Linked DNA regions of Homo sapiens: region 1 is linked to region 2. Evidence: promoter capture Hi-C in 16 types of primary human blood cells and fetal thymus (Javierre and others, 2016). All regions are on one chromosome and are shown on one strand. Each heading gives the region's core, a stretch centred on a gene start or on the middle of the fragment in contact. The rest is flanking DNA. Distances are from core to core; before and after follow the strand shown. Region 1 holds the start of CCDC142 (coiled-coil domain containing 142). Region 2 holds the start of MOB1A (MOB kinase activator 1A).

The links. Contacts are between HindIII fragments. The CHiCAGO score rates a contact against its expected background, and 5 or more counts as called.
Region 1: the fragment with the promoter of CCDC142 here is called in contact with the fragment with the promoter of MOB1A in region 2 in 3 of 17 cell types (total CD8 T cells, fetal thymus and activated CD4 T cells); the score reaches 6.2 in total CD8 T cells.

The regions. Positions count from the first base shown.
Region 1 is chr2:74,481,516-74,488,678 of GRCh38, reverse strand. CCDC142 (coiled-coil domain containing 142) reads left to right here and starts at 5,681. Exons shown (of 9, transcript NM_001365575.2): 1 at 5,681-6,862; 2 at 7,141-7,163. The coding sequence starts at 5,842. It overlaps TTC31 (tetratricopeptide repeat domain 31), which reads right to left and starts at 5,598. Exons shown (of 13, transcript NM_022492.6): 1 at 5,544-5,598; 2 at 5,269-5,357. The coding sequence starts at 5,583. RefSeq lists enhancers at 5,169-5,278, 5,599-6,138, 6,249-6,368, 6,439-6,538. The HindIII fragment of the contact is 7,623 bases long and covers 198-7,163 here.
Region 2 is chr2:74,176,588-74,183,447 of GRCh38, reverse strand. It overlaps MOB1A (MOB kinase activator 1A), which reads left to right and starts at 4,569. Exons shown (of 6, transcript NM_018221.5): 1 at 4,569-4,787. The coding sequence starts at 4,774. RefSeq lists enhancers at 1,493-1,622, 1,633-1,772, 4,861-5,544 and silencers at 4,808-4,997, 6,717-6,860. The HindIII fragment of the contact is 1,935 bases long and covers 3,302-5,236 here.

The DNA of each region.
Region 1 (7,163 bases), core at 4,432-6,931, 300 kb before region 2:
TGGGACTTCAGGTTTGCACCATCATGTCCAGCTTGTCCAAATTTTCACTCTGACACTACCTGCCTGTTTGATTCTGGAGAAGTCATTTAACTTCTTTGGACCTCTCCCTCATTCACAAAATAAGGCAAGACTCTTTAAGGCCTGGCCCACACATTCTGTGGTCCTGATGGGAGTCATTTCCTCAGGGAGTATAAGCTTCAAAGACAGGAATGATCACATTCCTATTTGCCTAATCAGGCCTAAACAGAGCAGGACTGACTGAGACGCTTAGAAGCCAATGATCTTTTGGACTTATTGAGTTAGAAGCCACAAACTTAGAAACTCCAGCGTGCTAAAAAAAAATCTGTAGGCAGGACTTCAGATGACTAAGGTATATTCAATTTTCTAAACAATTTTAGATCCAAGGCTTCCCTCAGAAGATAGTCCTGGCTTAACAGCATCTCCAATACTGCTAGGCACTTTCATCAGTCTTATACTTAAAATTCAATTTCCTGGTGGGTTTGTGTCACCTTCCTAACTGCAACATAAGCATAAATAATGAGCCAGGTGTGGTGCGGACGCCTATAGTCCCAGCTACTCGGGAGGCTGAAATCGAAGGACTGTTTGAGCCCAGGAGTTCAAGGCTGCAGTGAACTATGATCATGCCACTGCACTGAAGCCTGGGTAACAGAGGGAGACCCTGTCTCGATAAATAAATATGGCTGGGCATGGTGGCTCACGCCTGTAATCCCAGCACTTTGGGAGGCCAAGACGGGTGGGTCACTTGAGGCCAAGAGTTTTAGACCAGCCTGGCCAACATGGCGAAACCCCATCTATACTAAAGATACAAAAATTAGCTGGGCATGGTGGCACATGCCTGTAGTCCCAGCTACTCAGGAGGCTGAGGCACGAGAATTGCTCGAACTTGGGAGGCAGATGTTGCAGTAGCCAAGATCACACCACTGCACACCAGCCTGGGTGACAGAGTGAGACTCTGTCTCATAAAAATAAATAAATTAATTAATTAATAATAAATAAATAAAGCATGCTCTCTGCCCCATGTCAGGCAGCCTCCTCAGGATGTGCCACTCAAATATATACTGTATTTCTTCTCTCTTCCTCCTCAAACCAGTGTAGTCATCATTAAAAATAAAAAATAAAAATAAATTTAAAAAAATAAAAAGCCGGGTGCAGTGGCTCACACCTGTAATCCCAGCAATTCGGGAGGCCAAGGCAAGCAGATCACTTGAGGTCAGGAGTTCGAGACCAGCCTGACCAACATGGTGAAACCCGTCTCTACTAAAAATACAAAAATTAAGCAGGTGTGGTGGCACGCATCTGTAATCCCAGCTACTTGGGAGGCTGAGGTAGGAGAATTGCTTGAAACTGGGAAGTGGAGGTTGTGGTGAGCCGAGATCTCGCCACTGCACTCCAGCCTGGGCAACAGAGCGAGACTACGTCTCAAAAAAACAAACAAACAGGTACTTCCTTGACCTTCTACTACCTGTCCCCAAACCACAGTCTGTGCTGCTCTCTGAATTCACTACATGGCCACTACATATGATCTGGTCCCCCAATATCATTGTGAATCTTCTCCTATCTTGTTACCCTCCTCCAGCCACAGCAGTGTCCTTGGAAGTTCCCACAACATACCAACTGTGCTCCCATCTTAGGGCTTTGCACTTTACTTTGCCTAGAATGCTTTTTCCCCAGTGAACAGCTCACTCCTTCGTCCTTTTTAGATCTCTATGTAAATGTCACTTTCTCAGAGAGGCCTTCTCTGAACACTCCTTTTTTTTTTTTTTTGAGGTGGAGTTTCGCCCTTGTTGCCCAGGCTGGAGTGCAATGGCATGAACTTGGCTCACCGCAACCTCCGCCTCCAGGGTTCAAGTGATTCTCCTGCCTCGGCCTCCAGAGTAGCTGGGATTACAGGCATGCACCACCATGCCCAGCTAATTTTGTATCTTTTAGTAGAAACGGGGTTTCTTCATGTTGGTCAGGCTGGTCTCAAACTCCTGACCTCAGGTGATCCATGTGCCTCAGCCTCCCAAAGTGCTGGGATTACAGGCGTGAGCCACCACACTTGGCCTGACCACTACTTTTAGAAGGAGAAACTTCCCAACTCCACTCAGCACTCCCTATCCTCCTTCTTGCTTTTTCTTTGTACTTCTCATGTTTGACATACTATGTTGTTTATTTATTTGGTCACTGGTTGCCCTCATTAGATGCTCCTAATTTGTTGAACAGAAAGATTTTGGTCTGTTTGATTTACTGCTGTTTCTCAGTACCTACAACAGTATCTAGTACATAGGTGGTATTGTGTGTGTGCTGAGTAAACAGAGATTGGTGAGGAGGCTATTCCAATAGAGACAGAGCCAGGAACTGTGTGTGAAGAAACATGTGTGACACAGTGAGTGTGAACTTTTTTTTTTTTTGAGACGGAGTCTAACCCTGTCTCCAGGCTGGAATGCAATGGCGCAACCTTGGCTCACTGCAACCTCCATCTCCTGGGTTCAAGCAATTCCCTTGCCTCAGCCTCCCAAGTAGCTGGGACTATAGGCGCCCACCACCATGCCCAGCTAATTTTTTGTATTTTAGTAGAGACGGTGTTTCACCATGTTGGCCAGGATGGTCTCCATCTCCTGACCTCATGATCCGCCTGCATCAACCTCCCAAAGTGCTAGGATTACAGGTGTGAGCCACTGCGCCTGGCCGTGAGTGTAGACTTTATCTTGTCAGTGATAGCAGTGGACTTGATCTGGGGAATGAAACAATCAAATGAAATAGTGCTGAGACGGCCAGGCATGGTGGCTCAAGCCTGTAATCCCAGCACTTTGGGAAGTCAAGGAGGGTGGATCACCTGAGGTCTGGAGTTTGAGATCAGCATGACCAACATGGAGAAACGCAATCTGTACAAAAATACAAAATTGGGCCAGGTGCGGTGGCTCACGCCTGTAATCCCAGCATTTTGGGAGGCTGAGGTGGGCGGATCACAAGGTCAGGAGATCGAGACCAGCCTGGCTAACATGGTGAAACCCTGTCTCTACTAAAAATACAAAAAATTAGCCAGGCGTGGTGGCAGGCGCCTGTAGTCCCAGCTACTCGGGAGGCTGAGGCAGGAGAATCACTTGAACCCGGGAAGCAGAGGTTGCGGTGAGCCAAGATCACACCATTGCACTCCAGCCTGGGCAACGGGAGCAAAACTCCATCTCAAAAAAAAAAAAAAAAAAGAAATACTGCTCAGGGGAAGATGAGGCTATGGATGTAATGTTTAGTTCAGGCCAGATACAAGGAGTCTTGATATAAGGGAATGGCAGCAAGACCAGGAACGGAAATGAGGGGCTTCTGTCAAGAGACATTTAGAAGTAGATTTTAGTGGCCGGCATGGTGGCTCATGCCTGTAACCCCAGCACTTTGGGAGGCCGAGATGGGTAGATCACAAGGTGAGGAGTTTGAGACCAGCCTGGCCAATATGGTGAAACCCCTCTCTACTAAAAATACAAAAATTAGCTGGGCGTGGTGGTGGGTGTCTGCCATCTTAGCTACTCAGTAGGCTGTGGCAGGAAAATTGCCTGAATCCGGGAGGAGGAGGTTGCAGTGAGTAGAGATGGCGCCACTGCACTCCAGCCTGGGCGACAGTGTGAGACTCTGTCTCAAAAAAAAAAAAAAAAAAAAGTAAATTTTAGTGACTAACTAAATGTTTGAGGTAAAAGAAAGGGATATAAAATGATTATCAGATTTCCAGATTAAACAACTAGATGAAAGTTTGTGTTATTAACCAAAATTGGGATTAGAAGAAAAGCAACCAATTTACAAACATGATAAATTAATTTAACAAAAGTTAATTAAATTAACTTTTGGGTTTGAGTTTGAGATTCTAGGGAGTATAGCGCCTCAATGCTTCCAAATCTGATCCTGTCCCTCCTTCGAAAACCCTGCTGTCTACCGGGCATGGTGGCTCACACCTGCAATCCCAGCACTCTGGGAGGCCAAGGCGGGCGGATCACGAGGTCAAGAGATCGAGACCATGCTGGCCAACATGGTGAAACCCAGTCTCTACTAAAAATACAAAAATTAGCTGGGACTGGTGGCATGTGCCTGTAGTCCCAGCTACTCAGGAGGCTGAGGCAGAAGAATTGCTTGAACCAGAGAGGCGGAGGTTGCAGTGAGCCAAGATCACACCACTGCACTCCAGCCTGGGCGACAGAGTGAGACTCCATCTTAAAAAAAAACAAAAAACAAAAAAACTCTGTTGCCTACTTGAGAACATCCAAACCCCTGTGCTAAGTCAAAGCCTTTCAAGCCATCTGCTGCCTTCTCTCCCACCCCATCTTTTACTGTTCCAACCAGATTCTCTACTCTGGTCTCACTTTGGTAAAGTTCTCTCAACTTTTCCTTGTTTTACTGTCTTTGCTCACACTGTCCCCTCCATCTATAAAAAGATATTTTTTCATTTTTTTTTTGAAATGGAGTCTCCCTCTGTTGCCCAGGCTGGAGTGCAGTGGTGTGATCTTGGCTCACTGCAACCTCTGCCTCCCGGGTTCAAGCGATTCTCCTGCCTCAGTAACCCCAGTGACTGGGATTACAGGCGCACACCACCACGCCCAGCTAGTTTTTCGTATTTTTGGTAGAGATGGCGTTTCACCATGTTGGCCAGGCTGGTCTCGAACTCCCGACCTCAAGTGATCCGCCCCCCTAGGCCTCCCAAAGTGCTGAGATTACAGGTGTGAGCCACTGGGCCCAGCTTTTTTTTTTTTTTAGACAGAGTCTCACCGTTCCCCAGGCTGGAGTGCAGTGGCACGATCATGGTTCACTGAAACCTTGACCTCCCGCGCTCAAGAGATCCCCCACCCACCACGCGGGCTAAATTTTTTAAAAACATTTTTGTAGAGATGGGGTCTCACTATGTTGCCCAGGCTGGTCTCTAACTCCTGGGCTCAAGCAATCCTCCCGTCTCAGCCTCCCAAAGTGTTGAGATTACAGGCACAAGCCACCGCGCCCGGCCTCCATCTTTTCCCAAGGAACTCGTACCCACTCCCTAATCCTCAACTCAGAGACCCTTGTCTGCTCAATTCTACCCACTTCGAGCATCTGTTACATCAGGATCATCCTCCTGATCCCCTGCCCCTCACTTGCCTAAGATCCTCAAGGGCATGGCCGGAGACTACAACTCCCCAAAGCCTCCAGAGCCCCGTCTGGCGCCCATCCGTCGCGGGTTTCTGCACAGCTGACTTCAAAGAGGCGTGACCAAAATGAGCAGGACTGGGGGAAACTGAGGGTCGCTTTTACCTCTTCGCCGTAATCCTCTGGACCGAATTCCTTGCAAAGTTTGGGTGCAGCAGCGACCTCCAGTGGGCAGCTGGGCCGTAGAGAGCAGTCTACAGGAAAGGAAGGCGGAGCCTCGTCAGCGGGCTCGGGACAGATGGGCTAGAGTCCTCCCCACTCTACCCTCGACTCTCCGCCCTCTGCATAAAATCCTACTCGAAACGTTCAGACCACAGGTGGACCCAAGAGGGGCTGCCTCTGCCCTCCTAGACCCCCACTGGTCTTGTCATACCGCTCACCTAGCTTGATCCGCCCCACAGTCTTTGGAATCGGCGCCATCGCATCTACAGTGACCCGGAAATGAAAGGTAGTCTAGTATTTGATACCAGCCAAAGGGCGGGGTGGGACAGAGTGGGCGGCCATGTTTGTTAGGGGCAGAAGCCTCCCATTACGGAGCACGAGAGAGTCCATGAAGGTCCCCGCGACTCCCGGACTGGAGAAAACGGCTCTTGCGATGGGGCGAAGTCCGAGCTGCGGCGGGCGTTGGTCCGTGCAGGGAAGTGGGAATCGTTAGGTTCGTTCTGGACCCGCCGCCCCATGGCCCAGGCGTCTCGCTCAGGTAGCCTGCCTCCACTCGTTATCGTGCCCCCGCTGAGGGCGCAACCCGGGGGCACTGGGGAGGAGCAGTGGGAGAGAAGTCGAACGGGCGGTCTTCGCTGGGAGGTTCACTGCTGGCCGAGCGGAACTTCTGGAGGGACGCCGTGGTGGCCGACGCCGGCGGATGTGAGCGAGGACTACGAGGCTGATGCTGCGGCCTGGAGGCGGGGGCCCGCAGGTGGCGGCCCGATCCCTCCCGCGCTGCAGCGTCTCCGGGCGGTGTTGCTGCGGCTGCATCGCGAGCGGGAGCAGCTCCTCCAGGCCCGAGACTGCGCCTACCACCTACAGTCGGCTGTGCGACTCATGAAGACCCTGAGTCCTGGCTCGCCATCCGGCGGCCCTAGCCCCTTGCCCCAGTGGTGCCGCGACCTGCAGCTGCACCCTTCCCAAGGGGCGGTTCTGCGAATCGGCCCTGGGGAGACTCTCGAGCCGCTGCTGCTAGCGCGCCCCATCGGACTAGCCGCCCAGTGCCTGGAGGCTGTCATCGAGATGCAGCTTCGCGCTCTCGGCCGGGAGCCCGCCAGCCCGGGCCTGTCGTCCCAACTCGCCGAGCTGCTCTTTGCACTTCCCGCCTACCACACACTACAGAGAAAAGCCTTGAGCCACGTCCCAGGGGCCGCACGTCCTTTCCCCACGTCCCGTGTGCTCCGCCTCTTGACGGGGGAGCGGGGTTGCCAGGTGGCAAGTCGGCTGGACGAGGCGCTCCAAGGATCGGCGTTGAGGGACCAGCTCCGCAGGCGGTGCCAAGAGGAGGGGGATCTGCTACCAGGGCTGCTGGGCCTGGTCGGGGGCGTGGCGGGTTCAGCCAGCTGTGGACTAGGGCTCGGAGGGGCTGGGGCCTTGTGGAGCCAATACTGGACCCTGCTGTGGGCAGCCTGTGCTCAGAGTCTGGACCTAAATCTGGGACCCTGGAGGGACCCCAGGGCAACAGCGCAACAGCTGAGTCAGGCACTGGGTCAGGGTGAGTGATGGGCTTGGGTGGGCGTTTGGGAAGGCTGGGGTCTCTTCCTTCCCCTTGGCCAACTCACTGACCTGCCATCCTGAAGGCAAAAGCAGGCCCTTTAGAAAGAACACCCCTGGGTTCAGACTATAGCTTCTGAGCTTTCAAGGCAAAGTCTTGCTTTCCACCCCAGTCCCGAGTCTTGGAGGAAGCATGCCTTCTTGCCTCATCATTGAGTGGGCAGGGGTTGTGGAAAGTGAGACCTTGTTTTCAGGCCCCAGAGTCATTTCTCCCACTAGCATCCCTGCCTCAGGAGTGTGAG
Region 2 (6,860 bases), core at 3,320-5,819:
CTCACTGCAACCTCTGCCTCCCAGGTTCAAGCAATTCTCCTGCCTCAGCCTCCCAAGTAGATGGGAATACAGGCGTGCACCACCACGCCCGGCTAATTTTTGTATTTATTTAATTTAATTTTTTTTTTTGAGACACAGTTTTGCTCTTATTGCCCAGGCTAGAGTGCAATGGCGTGATCTCGGCTCACCGCAACCTCCACCTCCCAGGTTCAAGCGATTCTCCTGCCTCAGCCTTCCCAAGTAGCTGGGATTATAGGCATGTGCCACCAAGCCCGGCTAATTTTGTATTTTTAGTAGTGATGGGGTTCTCCATGTGGGTCAGGCTGGTCTCGAACTCCCGACCTCAGGTGATCCGCCCACCTCGGCCTCCCAAAGTGCTGAGATTACAGGCGTGAGCCACCGCGCCTGGCCTATTTTATTTCATTTTTGAGTCAGAGTCTTGCTCAGTCACCCAGGCTGGAGTGCAGTGGTATGATCTCAGCTCACTGCAGCCTCTGCCTACTGGGTTCAAGTGATTCTCGTGCCTCAGCCTCCCAGCCTCAGCTGGGACTACAGGCACACGCCACTATGCCTGGCTAATTTTTGTATTTTTTTTTCTTTTTCTGTTTTTTTTGAGACAGAGTCTGGCTCTGTCGTCCAGGCTGGAGTGCAGTGGTGCGATTTCGGCTCACTGCAACCTCCGCCTCCAGGGTTCAAGTGATTCTCCTGCCTCAGCCTCCCTAGTAGCTGGGACCACAGGTGCACGCCACCACGCCCGGCTAATTTTTGTATTTTTAGTAGAGATGGGGGTTTCACCATGTTGGCCAGGCTGGTCTCGAACTCTTGGCTTCAAGTGATCTGCCGACCTTGGCCTCCCAAAGTGCTGGGATTACAGGCGTAAGCGACCATGCCCAGCCGCTGAGTGAGTTTTTGATTTCTGATAAATTGGGATTTCTCCTTCACAGTCTGCAAAGTCTGCAACCTGAGTACTGAGATAATGGACAGGGACAGCTTACCAACTTATTTTATTTTATTTTTATTTTTTTGAGGCAGGGTCTCTCTCTGATGCCCAGGCTGGAGTGCAGTGGCACAGTCTCCTTTCACTGCAGCCTGGACTTCCTGGGCTCAAGGGATCCTCCCACCTCAGCCTCCAGAGTAGCTGGGACTACAGACTCAAGTCACCATGCCCAGCTAATTTTTGTATTTTTTGTAGAGAAGGGGTTTCACCATGTTGCCCAGGCTGGTTAGCAACTTTACTGTTTGTTTCTCTTCACCTATTTGTGACAAAGATTAAAATTCCTTAATCTGTCACAGGAGTAGAGTTTTTTGTTTGTTTGTTTTTGTTTAAAAAAAAAAAAAAAAGCTTGAGCTCCCAACAGCACCAACTGGCTGGGAGGGGCAGGAACGTTACTGCGACCAAAGTGGGAAGATGCCCTGTGTGGGTGAGGTTGTTAGGGTAAAACGGGAGTTTTGCAAATGATAGGATGGGCACTTACACAGAATGAAAATGCAGAGTTGCAAATCCTGCCTCAGGGAGCTAGAAAGGGGAACTGTGTGTGATGAAAGGCGGGTGGGGAGAGGTTCAGAAGATCTAGTCCTGGAGGCCTCATAATTTGCCGCTTAGCTTCTGCTTTCAGCATCTGCTGTGACCAGATGGTGTGCAGTGATCTCTGGCCGGCTAAGCCAAGAAGTGAATAAAACTTCTTCGGTCTTTGTATAGACCTTGTCTGGTAGGGAACAAATTGTCCTGTAGCAATTAGCAATGAACAATTTCTTTTTCTCTCTTTTACTGGAAAAATCTTATCTTTGATATCTAAGTGAACTATGTTGATATCGTGCTTAAATATTGATTGAGGATTTTTCCCTAACCCTGAAATCCTCCCTCCCTGCTACCCCAACCAAATTTAGCCATCCTGAAAGGTTTTTCTTATAAATAGCTGGACTTCTATCCTCAGTGATTCTTCAACTTGAAGAAAAATACCATTGAAAGAGGGAAACCTTTCATGAATTTCTTTTTTCCCATGTTATTTGGAAATTGTTTTTATGATATTATTTAAGTAATATAAATTACCACAGAAGTATAAATAGATGTACCTTTTTTCTTTTTTTTTTTTGAGACAGGGCCTCACTTTTGTCACCCAGGCTGGAGTACAGTGGTGTGATCTCGGCTCGTTGCAGCCTCTACCTCCAGGGCTCAACCCATCCTCCCGCCTCAGCTTCCCAAGTAGCTGGGACTATAGGCGTGCACCCCCACACCCGGCTATCTTTTTTTTTTTTTGTAGAGATGGGGGTTTGCCATGTTGCCTAGGCTGGTCCCAAACCCCTGAGCTCAAGTGATCTGCCCACTTTAGCCTCACAAAGTGCTGGGATTACAGGTGTGAGCCACCTCGCCCGGCCTAAATCTGTGTTCCTATATTTGTAACTTCCATATAGCGATATCAAATCGCATTTATTTATAAATCAAATTCCAAAAAACTACAAAAGTTTAAAAAATTAAAATTATTAATTTATTTTTTTCAGGGGAGGAAAAAGAGTATGTAAATTTGCTTTACATAACTGACTGAAAAATATATTCAAGAAATAGTAAATATAATTTAATACAGTCTCATGTGCCCTAACATCATTAACTTAATGTGACAAGTGATATATGAATGAAATAAAATTACTGGAAACATGAACATTGTGCAGTCAGGTACAGGGCAAACTCCTTTACATTGAGCACCCTGCACCACCATTTGCTGAGCTATGACTGAAGTCTCCCACTATTTTCCTTTTGTTTTCTTCATTCCACCATGGTGGAATGAAGGCGTTGCTTGGCTGTCACTTGGCATTAATACCACACAAAAGCCTGTACATGAATGTTCACGACAGCATTATTAATAATAGACAAAAAGTGGAAACAACCCAAATGTTCCTCAACAGATGAATGGGTAAACAGAATGTGGTATATTCACATAATGGAATATTACTCATCCATAGAAAGAAATAAAGTTTTTTTCTTTTTTCTTTTTTTTTTTTTTGTTTTAGAGACAGGATCTGGCTCTGTCACCCAGGCTGGAGTGAAGTGGCGCCATCTTGGCTCACTGCAGCCTCCATCTCCTGGACTCAAGGAATCCTCCCGCCTCAGCCTCCCGAATAGCTGTGACCACTGGCACACACCATTACGCCTGGCTAATTTTTGTGTTTTTGTAGAGGCGGGGTTTCACCATGTTGCCCAGGCTGGTCTCGAACTCCTGAGCTCAAGTGATCCGCCAGCCTCAGACTCCCAAAGTGCTGGGATTACAGGCGTAAGCCACAACTGTGCCTGGCCAGTAATGAAGCTTTGATACATGCTACAATATGGGTGCGTTTTAAAACATTATGCTAAGTGAAAGAAGTCAGTCACAAAAGACCACATAATGTATGCTTCCATTCACAGTGTATATGAAATGTCCAGATTAGGTAAATCCATGGAAATAGAAAGTAGAGTAGTGGTTGCCAGGGGTTGGGAGGAGGGAGGTGGGTAATAAAGAGTAACTGCTAATAGGTATGGGGTTTCTTTTCGGGGTGATGAAAATGGCCTAAAATTATGGTTAGGCTGGGCGCGGTGGCTCACGCCTGTAATCCCAGCTTTGGGAGGCCGAGGCGGGTGGACCACTTGAGGTCAGGAGTTCAAGACCGAGACCAGCCTGGCCAACATGGCGAAACCCCGTCTTTACTAAAAAAAAAAAAAAAAAAAAATACAAAAATTAGACGGGTGTGGTGGCGCACGACTGTGATCCCAGCTACTCGGGAGGCTGAGGCATGAGAATCACTTGAATCTGGAAGGCAGAGGTTGCAACGGGCCGAGATTGCACCACTGCATTCCAGCCTGGGTTACAAAGTGAGACTCTGTCAAAAAAAAAAAAAAAATTAGTGCTGATGGTTGGCACACTTTGAAAACATAAACAAAGCCGGAGGCAGTGGCTCACACCTGTGATCCCAGCATTTTGGGAGGTCAAACCAGGAGGATCCCTTGAGCTCAGGAGTCCAAGACCAGCTTGGGCAACACAGTGAGACGCTCGTCTCTGCAAAAACTTTGAGAAAATTAGCCGGGCGTGGTGGCAGGCACCTGTGGTCTCAGCTACTCGGGAGGCTGAGGCGAGAGGATCACTTAAGCCCAGGAAGTCCAGGCTGCAGTGAACTGTGAACTCCAGTCTGGGCGACAGAGCGAGACACCTCAGAAAAAAAAAAAAAAAAGAAAGAAAAAACCGAAAAAGACCACTAGAGGGTACATGTTTAAAGGACAGATTTTATGCTATGTGAATATATTTCAAGTAAAAATTAAATTAACAATTTTAAAAATTGCAGGAGTACGCAGCGCTTATAGAGGTCCCTGCATAACCTAGGGAGCGGGATCGAAACCCAGCAGCACCAAGATACTCTAAGAGCAGGACCAGCCACTGCCCCTTCCGCAGGACCGCCATCCTCGCCACGCCTCCGGGGGAGGGAGGTCCTGGCTTGGAGAGCGATGATTGGCCGAGTTCTAGGACGAGGCGGAGCGAAAGGGGGCGCGACAAGTCCCTCCCGGCGCAGCGAAACCTTAGCTCGCGAGATTTTGTTGGTTCCGCATTTCGGGTCTGCGAGGTGGGGTAGGCGGGCAAGGCGGGCGCCGAGGTTTGCAAAGGCTCGCAGCGGCCAGAAACCCGGCTCCGAGCGGCGGCGGCCCGGCTTCCGCTGCCCGTGAGCTAAGGACGGTCCGCTCCCTCTAGCCAGCTCCGAATCCTGATCCAGGCGGGGGCCAGGGGCCCCTCGCCTCCCCTCTGAGGACCGAAGATGAGCTTCCTCTTGTGAGTGGGGTCGGGCCGCGGGCGCCGGGCCTGCGGGCCGAGGTTGTGGGGGAGGCCTCCCCGGACCTGAGGCGAGGGCTCGGCCTGGGGGCCGAGGCGGGGGCGGGGTAGCTGGCGTTTGTTTTGCCTCTGTTCGGGTCCGCGGGGGAGGCCGAGATGTTGGGAGAGGCCGACAGAGATGAAGGTCGAAGTAAAGGAAACGGAGCGTGAAGGCTGGGGAGTAGAAAGGCCCCGGGGCCGTCGCGCCTCCAAACTTTTCCGCCCGAGCGCCCCCGAGGGCGGGGAGACGATCTGGGGGCGGAGCCGCGAGCCCCCAGTTTCTCTTGTCTCGAGCTTCTAGAAACCGTCCTTGCCGACTTAACTCGTTGCTCGGTTATAGGTCCAGTTTCATTATTGTCGGTGTTAAATGCCGCCCCAGGAGAATGTGCGTTGCCGCAGTTTGAGAAGCTTGAAGTTAAGATGCTGGCCTTGGAGTCGGATCGTTCTGTCCAGTTCTGATTCTGCCCACTTACTGGCTTTGATTTTAACCAACTTCTCTTGTCCTCGGTAGAATCCTGTGTTTTTAATCATTATGTAATATACCATACAGCATTATTATATAGTACATTGCAGTATTATAAATAATTTGGAAAGTTAAAACAAATTCATAGTCCCATTGCAGAAACACAGTATTGCCATTTTAGTGCACTACAGCAATTAACTTGATAGGCATACCTTAGAATCTCATTTTAGAGATAATGCCTGAGCCCAACCAAACAAGGCTAAAATGAAAAAGCTTGTAAATTCCCTGATGATTCTTATGCACATTAAGGTTTGAGAAGCATTGCTCTGGCACAGTATTTTTTATTCTCAGGTGTCTCTCTCTACCTTGTATATTGCTTAAATGTGTGTTTTGTGATTGAATAATTATCCAATTTTAGTTATGGATGTAATCCACATGCTTGACATTTTTATTAAATACAATATAAAAACACTATATAGTTTTTTTTTTATTTTTTATAACCAGAGTTTACCCACTTTATTGTGAGAAACTGGGATTCCTTCCAGTATTTACTATTATAAAATAGCACTACTCAGAATATGTTTATCTGCGTCTCATTTTCCTTCCTTTGGGTTATTCTCGTAAATGAATGGTCTCTAAAATACGATTACCTTGTCAAAAAGCCTGTATGATTTAGATTTAACTTCCATATTAATAGAAGTATTCCTCCCTCCTCCACTTTTTTCTTACGAGTTGATATTTAATTAGTGAATGCACAGTTGCTTTGTGGACCTTAATACGAGACTTTTTCTTTTTTTTTATTTTTTGAGACGGAGTTTCGCTCTGTCCTCCAGGCTAGAGTGCAATGGCACGGTCTCGGCTCACTGCAACCTCTGCCTCCGGGGATGGCACGGTCTCGGCTCACTGCAACCTCTGCCTCCCGGGTTCAAGCGACTCTCCTGCCTCACACTCCCGAGTAGCTGGGATTACAGGCGCCGGCCACCACACCTGGCTCATTTTTGTATTTTTAGTGGAGACTGGGTTTCATCATGTTGGCCAGGCTGGTCTCGAACTCCTGACCTCAGATGATCCACTCCCGCACTCGGCCGAGACTTTCTTTTTTTAAAACTTGGCCTTCTTGATGGACACTTGAGTTGTTCCCGCTTTTTGGCCATTATGAATAATGCTGCTGTGAACATATGTGACAGGTTTTTGCGTGGATGTATGTGTTCATATCTCTTGGGTATATACTTAGGAGCAGAATTGCTGGCTTAAGTGGTAACTATGTTTAACCTTTTGAGGAACTGCCAAACTTCAAAGTGCTGCACCATTTTACATTCCCATAAGTACTCTATGAGGGGTCCAATTTCCCCACACCTCTCATAGCACTTGTTAATTTTCTTTTTTTTTTTTTTTGAGACAGAGTCTTGCTCTGTCGCCCAGGCTGGAGTGCAGTGGCTCAATCTCGGCTCACTGTAAGCTCCGCCTCCCGGGTTCACGCCATTCTCCTGCCTCAGTCTCCCAAGTAGCTGGGACTACAGGCGCCTGCCACCATGCCTGGCTAATATTTTGTGTTTTTAGTAGAGACGGGG